Regions from separate parts of the Homo sapiens genome. Here regions 1 and 2 are each linked to region 3. The links are contacts of gene promoters, found by promoter capture Hi-C in blood cells and fetal thymus (Javierre and others, 2016). All regions are on one chromosome and are shown on one strand. The core of a region is centred on a gene start or on the middle of the fragment in contact, and the rest is flanking DNA. Distances in the headings are between cores, read along the strand shown. Region 1 overlaps LOC102724158 (a long non-coding RNA gene). Region 2 has its middle 75 kb from the start of TRPC3. Region 3 holds the start of IL2 (interleukin 2).

What was found. Contacts are between HindIII fragments. The CHiCAGO score rates a contact against its expected background, and 5 or more counts as called.
Region 1: a fragment that was not itself captured here is called in contact with the fragment with the promoter of IL2 in region 3 in 1 of 17 cell types (endothelial precursors); the score reaches 5.5 in endothelial precursors.
Region 2: a fragment that was not itself captured here is called in contact with the fragment with the promoter of IL2 in region 3 in 1 of 17 cell types (endothelial precursors); the score reaches 5.3 in endothelial precursors.

Annotation. Positions count from the first base shown.
Region 1 is chr4:121,974,437-121,977,760 of GRCh38, reverse strand. All of the region lies in intron 1 of LOC102724158 (a long non-coding RNA gene), which reads right to left. Among named protein-coding and RNA genes, the nearest start is that of TRPC3, 24 kb to the right of the region's middle. The HindIII fragment of the contact is 248 bases long and covers 1,127-1,374 here.
Region 2 is chr4:122,025,424-122,028,640 of GRCh38, reverse strand. No RefSeq gene overlaps it. Among named protein-coding and RNA genes, the nearest start is that of TRPC3, 75 kb to the right of the region's middle. The HindIII fragment of the contact is 1,046 bases long and covers 1,046-2,091 here.
Region 3 is chr4:122,455,468-122,458,874 of GRCh38, reverse strand. IL2 (interleukin 2) reads left to right here and starts at 2,150. Exons shown (of 4, transcript NM_000586.4): 1 at 2,150-2,581; 2 at 2,672-2,731. The coding sequence starts at 2,435. RefSeq lists an enhancer at 105-164. The HindIII fragment of the contact is 2,130 bases long and covers 1,375-3,407 here.

The DNA.
Region 1 (3,324 bases), core at 1-2,500, 480 kb after region 3:
ACTCCAGCGCCCTCAGGCATGCTTTCTCAGTCCTAGTGGACAATATAATTACTCTTATCTCCAGGAGGAGAGAGAGAGAGAGAGAGAGAGAGATTGAGAGAGGGAGAGAGAGAGAGAAGGAGAGAGAGAGAGAGAAGCTAGCTCCATCCACCGAGGGGCCCTTTCCTACCACTTTTATCACTCTCATTTTCACACTATAGTGTTGGGAAAACACTGGGGATCTGACATGCCTGTGCTTCGCCTCGTGTCCAGCACTTGAGAACCTTGTCTTCCTGCACGTCTACTACCAAAATCTGGCAACTTGCCATCCAGGGCACTCCTTGTGCTCTGAAGAAACACCCTTGGGCCATGTAGGGTTACCACTGCTGTTGCACTGGCCGTCCTTTCCTCCATGGGAGGGGGAAAGGAGAAGCTTCTCTACCTGCTGGCACAGGCAGCTGCCCTCATCCCCACCACTCACAATGTTGCCGTTCTTCACTTAAAAGGTTCCTCAAGTCTGTAGCATACCCATGGAGCCTTGACAACCCAAGGCATTGTGAGCAGTGTGCAAATAGCTCACTCCTGAGGGATTTCTTCTCAGCCTGTGTTGTAGGTGGAGCCCTCCATGCCATGTCACTCCATCCCTCACTGTCTGACTCGCATCCCCTTCCCAAGATCAAAGCTTCACATCACCATCAATTCCATTAAATGTGCCTTCCAAGTAATCATCTGAGTCCTTGGGACACATACCAGTTAAAGTGCCTTTAGTTGTATTTAAAAAAAAAACTCAAACTACATTAAGCAATAATGAAATTTGCTGGATGACATGATGTAACTAGAAACTTAGAGGTAGCACAGGCTCGAGGATGGCTTAATGCAGTAGCAAGCCCTATTTCTTTGTGATTCTTGGCTCTGTCTTCCTCTTTGTATCAACTTCATCCTCAAGGACAAAGGCGACCAGAGTAGCCTTAGTGTCTGAACCTACTGCCCACACATGACACATCCAGGAGAAGAGTGACAGGGTTGCTTCTGCATGCATTCCTGGAGTAGGAGGCAAAAAGATACCTCGAACCCCAGCAACATTTCCTCAGTGGCTGAAATGGAGACTCCCATTCCTGAGCCAATCCCTGACAAGGGGGAGAAAGCTTACCAACCAGACCCGTCCACTGGGAGTCACTTGGGCTTTCCATAGAGGGGTGTACACCTGAACAAAATTGGGTTGATAGAAATCACAAAAAAGAATGCTGAGCAGGCTATCACCACAACCACTAGAGAGGGATTTCATCTGTGCCTCAAAATAGCTGCCTTCTTTCTGAAGTGGTGATATAGAAAACCTCTCATATACATTGATTAAAATCTTAGATACAGCAATATTACCCATTTTTTTAAAAAGCTTTTAGAATCCTACAGTCATAATATTGAGCAAAAGAAGGCAGACACAAAAGAAGATATGTACTGTATGATTTCATTTATATAAAGTTCAAAAACACTGTATTGTATTAGAAATAAGAGGAGTAATGACTGAAAAAGGGCATGGAGAGGGATTCTGGACTAATGTTCTGTTCCTTGATTGATGCTAGTTATGGCAGAAGTTTTATTTGTTAAAATTCATTAAGCTGTACATACATGATTTATGAACTTTTGGAATGTATGGTCTACTTCAACTAAAAAGCTAAAAATAAATAATAGAATTATAGTGCAAAGTATTGTGCAAGCTGTGACAGATATTAAGATTAATAACACACAGTCTCTTCAAGATTCAAGGATGTTGTAGCTGAGCAGAGCAGTCACATAAGTCAATCATCCATTACTACACAGTGTTAGGATATGTTCTATGATGAGGAGCATGAGATCCAAGGTCGAGTAAGACTTCCCAGAAAGGATCACATGTTAAGTTGGAACAAACAAAATGTGTCGGTATGAATTTGCTTAGTGAGGAGTGAGGGGATTGTGCAAATGCATGGAGGTAACAGAGTACTTGAGAATAGTTCAGTGTGGCTGGGTCTGAGTGTCTAAGGAGAAGAGGAAACACAGAGGGTAGAGAGGTCAACAGGGGCCTTTTAGGTTATGTTAAGGAGGTGGACTTTATCCTGAAGGCAAAGGAAAGTCATAGAAGGGGAAGAAGGGGACTGCCATGATCCATCATCAGCCAAGAACACAGTTGGCATTCATAGTGAAGGGGCATCTGTGTGTCTAAGGACCGGAAATAATCTCCATGAAGAGGGTGAAAGGCATCAGGGCTTGGTTAAAAGAAATTCATGGGAAGCTAACTGGCCTGTAAGTCAGATGATTTAGACTCTTGCCCCCCTTTTCCTACAACTTAGATCTGTACCCTTAGACAAGGTGGAATGGGGAAGGGAAAAAACACTGTGGACTCTTTTCTCTAATTTGGTATAAGGACAGGGCAGGCACATCTACTTCATGTAATTTACTAATCTCATTGACTACATCCCCATGCCATAGCTATTCTCACCACAGTTTAAGAAGAGAACTCAGGCTTAGAATGACAGAGCTGAGATCCAAACCCAGGACTTCTGGGATCCTGGTGCTCTTCCTGCAGTATTCTGGGGAGGATCAAAATTCCCTCGTTTTTCGGCAAAGAAAAGAATTTGCCCTTGGTTACTTACAAGGTCTTTTCAGTTCCTTCCAAGATTCTATGCTTGGAATTGGGATGCAAACCCTTCATCCAGAGATTAAATAAGTGTGTTCTTAACACACTTCATTTGAAAATTCTTGGTCATAAATTATGTTCCCCTTTTTTATTTTTTATAAATAAAAGGATCATAGGCTTTCAGAGGCTTTTTTCTAAATTATACAGGAAACAAAATGTTACTTTAAGAGTAATTAGGGATCTAGAAGCTTTTTAAAGCCAGGTCTCTATATGCTAAAAAGCAATATATAACTAATTTCCATAAGTTGGGAAAAAATGGAAAAAAATTACCCCCACTGGACAGAATAATGGCTTTATATAACTACTTAAGCATGATGTATTGTGATTTTGTCATTAGAGTTGCTTTTAATTACCCCTTTTTTTCCTGATTCTTATGAACCTCACAAACTCATTCCATCATAAGCTGTCCAATGCAAGATAAAAATGTCATTGCTAGTGTCCTAGCATCCAATGTGATTGGTATTGAGCTTGATATATATTTGTTTATTTTTCTATTGCTGACATCAAATGAATACTCAATGACAGAAAAATCAATGTAATTTGACCTTTTGCTCTCTAGTAAAGGAAATAGCACTGTAACTTAATGGCTATATTCTATATCAATATCTATATCAATGTTTGAAAGATATACACTAAATTGTTAGTAGTAGTACCCATGAGGTAGAAGTGGTACT
Region 2 (3,217 bases), core at 319-2,818, 430 kb after region 3:
AATAAATATTAAGAAAATAGGCATAAATACTAAAAAAGCATAAGCAAAAGCCAAACATTGAATATGTAGATTATATGTTCAAAGACTTATTTAAAATAAGGATACACAGTCATAGAACGGATTGAAGAGAGCCTGAGATTGAAGGAGAGATAATAAGGAAAATCTGGGTAACCTGCTCCCCTGAGTGGACAACATCCATTTTAGCAATCAGGAAAACACTCATGTAATGTAATATGACCTAGTAGACTACATCTGGAATACTGCATCTAAATCTATATATCTGAAAGCTACATTTAAACATGTAGTCCAAAGTTGTTGCTAAAAACATGTTCTATTATTTTTCTATCATAGTACTAAAAACAAGTGCCAGAAAGTTGAAGAGAAAGGGAAAAGTTTAGCAAAAAACACAGGAATAGTTTAATGAATGTCAGGTTTAAATAGTATAATGAAAGGAAAGGAACTAAACACATTAGCTAGGAGAAACTTATTAGGGACTATTCACATGTCACTCTGAAGGTTATAAATACAAGGAAGAAGGAAAATAAATGGTGCCTGGAAAACATCAGAACTTGGTAAGCAAAGTAGAATAGAATAAGAAAAGATTCTCCTTTTAAAATTTTGATTATTTAATTTTGGATAGGAGGAAGATTATCTGAATGGAGAAATTCCGTGATAACTGGCGGAAGTTTTATTCCTTGAGATATTCTAAAAACTTCATAAAGGTAAACTCAGAAAGCCTAATGGTTGGGGAAATGACTGTATATGAAGATACGGTGAGAGAGAGTGTTTACGAGGTTCAGCTCTGACTTAGGTGTCTATGAGGAAAATTCAGGGGAATGGTACAGTGTTTCCCAAATCACTATTAACACAGTAAAATGTGTACCAGATGCATACCAATTGTGTGACATTGGGTACACTTTTTAAATAAATCCCCCCTTTTGAAAACTTTTTGAGGATAGGTTTGTGACCCCATTTGCTCAATAGACAGCCATCACTGTAGCTTCTATTTTAACATAGGTTCTAATACAGCTAATCTATCCAAGCTTTATACAATAAAGGCTTGAAAGAATAAAGTAATCCCCATCCTCAGTTGCAAAAATCTTGTGTTTCAGGCAAGCATTTGTTGTTGTTTTCCTATTACTGTGATTTAATGGCATGCCTGTGGGGTGCTGAATGCATTACGTAGAGTGCATTGATGATACAGTGAATGTTTTTGAGAGCTTTTGTGCTCTGGGTTATTTTCTAAGGTGTTATTTATGATTATAAGATGCTAATACAGTAATGAGAAATGTACAAAGCAGAGTGGAGAGTGCCTTTCTCTATATTCTTTCCAGTGCCTTGAATGCCGGCTTGCTGTGATTATAACATTTTGTCCTGTTTCCTTTTATCAACAATAGACTTTCAACACTGTGTAAATTTACATTTCATTTATTCTTTGTTTAATTCAATGAATGGAACACAACTATAAAATCCAAGGGACCCTCTGCCATTCCATACACTTGTCCAACTGGACGCTATTTTAGGCTGCTTCACAATATGTATAACTTTAGGGGAGGGAATGGGGGCTGGATAACTGGAGTGTATTGAATATAGAGGCAGCTACATTAATAAACACTTCTTAATACCATTGATTTTTTTCACAATAGCAAATGTTTTTATTTAGGCTGTCCATTTCCCTATGAAATAAGATTAAATGTTTCTCTCCCCCACCTAATTCTAACTTAATGGATGTGAACAATTTTTCTCCACAAATACAGAAATTCAAAATTCTAAGGAGGAAGAATAGAATAAGTTCTTTGGCACCACTTAAGAAGTTTGAAAGGCAGCAGTTAACTGACATGTGATTCCCATTCATCCACATCCTTGCACTAGGCTGGGCGCGGTGGCTCACTCCTGTAATCCCAGCACTTTGGGAGGCCGAGGTGGGCAGATCACGAGGTCAGGAGATCGAGACCATCCTGGCTAACATGGTGAAACCCTGTCTCTACTAAAAATACAAAAATATTAGCTGGGCGTGGTGGCGGGGTCCTGTAGTCCCAGCTACTTGGGAGGCTGAGGCAGGAGAATGGCATGAAACCGGGAGGCAAAGCTTGCAGTGAGCCGAGATCACGCCACTGCACTCCAGCCTGGGCGACAGAGCAAGACTCCGTCTCAAAAAAAAAAAAAATCTACATCCTTGCACCCAACCTCATTTTTTGCTGTTCACTGTCACACTCCCTTTGGTGAGATCAAATCAGATCAAAGCTACCAGATTGCATTCATTTCTACTTCTGCATCTTTGTTTGCATAATTCCCTTTTCCTCTCAGTTCTTAAAAAACTTAAATAATTTTTATTATGACATATTTCCAATGTACAGAAGAAAGCAGAAAATAAAATACATAATAACTGTATGTATGCATCTATCACCAACTTTAATAGACTTTAACATTTGGTCACACAGTCATGTGTCACATAATGAAAATTTGGTCAATGACAGACCACATATATGATGGTGGTCCGGTAAGACTATAACATCATATATCTTTCCTGTCACCTTTTCTATGTTTAGATACACACACACCATTGTGTTATAATTGCTTACAGTATTTAGTAGGCAATTCCTTGCAGATGCTGTATAGGTTTGTACCCTAGGAGCAATAGGCTATCCCATATAGCCTGGGTGTGTAGTAGGCTGTATCATCTAGGTTTGTATTAGTCCACTCTAAGACGTTTGCACAATGATGCAATTGCCTAACAATGTATTTATCAGAACGTGTCCCTGTTAAGTGACCAATGACTATACTTTGATCTCTCCACCTTTGTTTTTGTTTCGGTTTTTGGTTTTTGGTTTTTTTCTGAGACTGAGTCTCACTCTGTCACCCAGGCTGGAGTGCAATGGTACAATGTCAGCTCACTGCAACCTCCACTTCCCAGGTTCAAGAAATTCTTGTGTCTCAGCCTCCCAAGTAGCTGGAACTACAGGCATGAGCCACCATGCCCAGCTAATTTTTTGTACTTTTAGTAGAGACAGGGTTTTGCCATGTTTACCAGGCTGGTCTCAAACTCCTGACCTTAGGTGATCCACCTGCCTTGGCCTCCCAAAGTGCTGGGATTATAGGCGTGACCCACTGAGCCTGGCCTGTTTTTGTTTTTTTTTTTTTAAAGTTTTGTTGTTTTTTTAACAGAAGAATATTAATTTCTTTTTTATAAGAATCATATTTATTTTGCATATTTTTT
Region 3 (3,407 bases), core at 901-3,400:
GCTAAGTCACAAACAATGCTAAGCAACTAAAAATAGCTTCTTGTTTAATAGTAAAATTCTGCATAGTAAAAGGAGAAGCAGGGGGTATGACACACGTGGTAGTTAGCAGTCTACTAGTGACTTTACTGCCACAACCAGAAAAGCCAGCTGATGTGTCAGACGTGAGAAAGCGAAAGTATGTCACAGCGAATGTAGCTTTTCCACACGTATTTCAAGAAAGAAATGAAAAAGCCAACTTCTATAATGGTGCCTACTGTGCATTAACAGAGATAAACTAGGGGTCTAAGAACTCAGTTTTCTACAGGGTCCCAGAAGTATAGCCATATATTGCCCCATTCTCTAATGGAAATAGCCAGAGAAATAGAAATATCAAGACTGGAGAACATCAAATACCTCATTGGAAAAGCCCCCACATAGGAAAATGTGTGGGCTTGAATTCTTCCATTCTGGAAGGGTAAAGGCCTGAGTGATGATGCTGGGATTAGACACTGAAACTCTTTAGAGAAGCAAAACAAGTATAATAAAGCTGTACTTTATTATATTAAATAAATAACACACAGACTACCAAATAGCCTGCCCCTTATAACAGCGTTAATGTGATTTTGATCTGAAATGTATAGAGACATTTTGCATTTTTTCGTATAAAAAGTTCATGAGATTTGGCCCTAATCTGACCTTTTCTTCATTTTTTTTTCTACTTGAGGGACTATAATCTTTATTTTTAAATTTGTTTTATATTCTCCGAACATTACCTAACGCATAGAAAACTCTTATTGAACCATTTTTCTCTGTTCTTTGTAAAATATTACATTTGACTGTTCCTTAGACTGCTTTAATCATTCCTGCCTATGCACCCTCCTCAAAATCCAGTTTAAATTAATTGTTCCTTATTCAAGATTCCTTATATCCACCTCCCTTGGGGCAGCAATCACCTATCACCCAGGACTACACTTGTGTATGTACATATCTTCCCTATTACAAATCAGGTTCTTTGAAAAAATACAAATGGTAAGAGAGTGGATTTTTGGAGTCAGAACATTCTCTTTTCAAATCCTTCTTCTGCCCCTTACTGGCAATAAGGGCTGAGTGACCTAGAGCAAATTACTTAACTTCTCTGAGCCTCAGTTTTCTAATCTGCAAAATAGGAGCCATCACTTCACAAGTCTGTAAGACTTATATTAGACTAAGTGCCTGCCTGTACACTGTTCTCTTTTCTCTCTTTCTATATACCTGAAGGCATTATAGGTGCTAGATGTCTGTTTAAAGACCAGACAATATTGTCTTAAAAAAACAAACAAAAACACAGACAATACCATCTTTAAAAAAAAAAAAAAAGTCCAGGTAAGAAATAAATAAGGCCATAGAATGGAAGCTTTACAAGGACTCTCTCTGAGACAGGATCTCCTCAAGTGTCCCCAGGTTAAATTAGAAGTATATATCCGTACAATTGTTCAGCCAGTTTGTGCACTGTACTGAGGATGAATGAACACCTATCCTAAATATCCTAGTCTTCTGACTAAAAACAAGATCATATTTCATAACGATTATTGTTACATTCATAGTGTCCCAGGTGATTTAGAGGATAAATAAAAATCCATTAAAGAGGTAAAGACATAAAAACGAGAAACATGGACTGGTTTACACATAACACATACAAAGTCTATTATAAAACTAGCATCAGTATCCTTGAATGCAAACCTTTTTCTGAGTATTTAACAATCGCACCCTTTAAAAAATGTACAATAGACATTAAGAGACTTAAACAGATATATAATCATTTTAAATTAAAATAGCGTTAAACAGTACCTCAAGCTCAATAAGCATTTTAAGTATTCTAATCTTAGTATTTCTCTAGCTGACATGTAAGAAGCAATCTATCTTATTGTATGCAATTAGCTCATTGTGTGGATAAAAAGGTAAAACCATTCTGAAACAGGAAACCAATACACTTCCTGTTTTATCAACAAATCTAAACATTTATTCTTTTCATCTGTTTACTCTTGCTCTTGTCCACCACAATATGCTATTCACATGTTCAGTGTAGTTTTATGACAAAGAAAATTTTCTGAGTTACTTTTGTATCCCCACCCCCTTAAAGAAAGGAGGAAAAACTGTTTCATACAGAAGGCGTTAATTGCATGAATTAGAGCTATCACCTAAGTGTGGGCTAATGTAACAAAGAGGGATTTCACCTACATCCATTCAGTCAGTCTTTGGGGGTTTAAAGAAATTCCAAAGAGTCATCAGAAGAGGAAAAATGAAGGTAATGTTTTTTCAGACAGGTAAAGTCTTTGAAAATATGTGTAATATGTAAAACATTTTGACACCCCCATAATATTTTTCCAGAATTAACAGTATAAATTGCATCTCTTGTTCAAGAGTTCCCTATCACTCTCTTTAATCACTACTCACAGTAACCTCAACTCCTGCCACAATGTACAGGATGCAACTCCTGTCTTGCATTGCACTAAGTCTTGCACTTGTCACAAACAGTGCACCTACTTCAAGTTCTACAAAGAAAACACAGCTACAACTGGAGCATTTACTGCTGGATTTACAGATGATTTTGAATGGAATTAATGTAAGTATATTTCCTTTCTTACTAAAATTATTACATTTAGTAATCTAGCTGGAGATCATTTCTTAATAACAATGCATTATACTTTCTTAGAATTACAAGAATCCCAAACTCACCAGGATGCTCACATTTAAGTTTTACATGCCCAAGAAGGTAAGTACAATATTTTATGTTCAATTTCTGTTTTAATAAAATTCAAAGTAATATGAAAATTTGCACAGATGGGACTAATAGCAGCTCATCTGAGGTAAAGAGTAACTTTAATTTGTTTTTTTGAAAACCCAAGTTTGATAATGAAGCCTCTATTAAAACAGTTTTACCTATATTTTTAATATATATTTGTGTGTTGGTGGGGGTGGGAAGAAAACATAAAAATAATATTCTCACTTTATCGATAAGACAATTCTAAACAAAAATGTTCATTTATGGTTTCATTTAAAAATGTAAAACTCTAAAATATTTGATTATGTCATTTTAGTATGTAAAATACCAAAATCTATTTCCAAGGAGCCCACTTTTAAAAATCTTTTCTTGTTTTAGGAAAGGTTTCTAAGTGAGAGGCAGCATAACACTAATAGCACAGAGTCTGGGGCCAGATATCTGAAGTGAAATCTCAGCTCTGCCATGTCCTAGCTTTCATGATCTTTGGCAAATTACCTACTCTGTTTGTGATTCAGTTTCATGTCTACTTAAATGAATAACTGTATATACTTAATATGGCTTTGTGAGAATTAGTAAGTAAATGTAAAGCACTCAGAACCGTGTCTGGCATAAGGTAAATACCATACAAGCATTAGCTATTATTAGTAGTATTAAAGATAAAATTTTC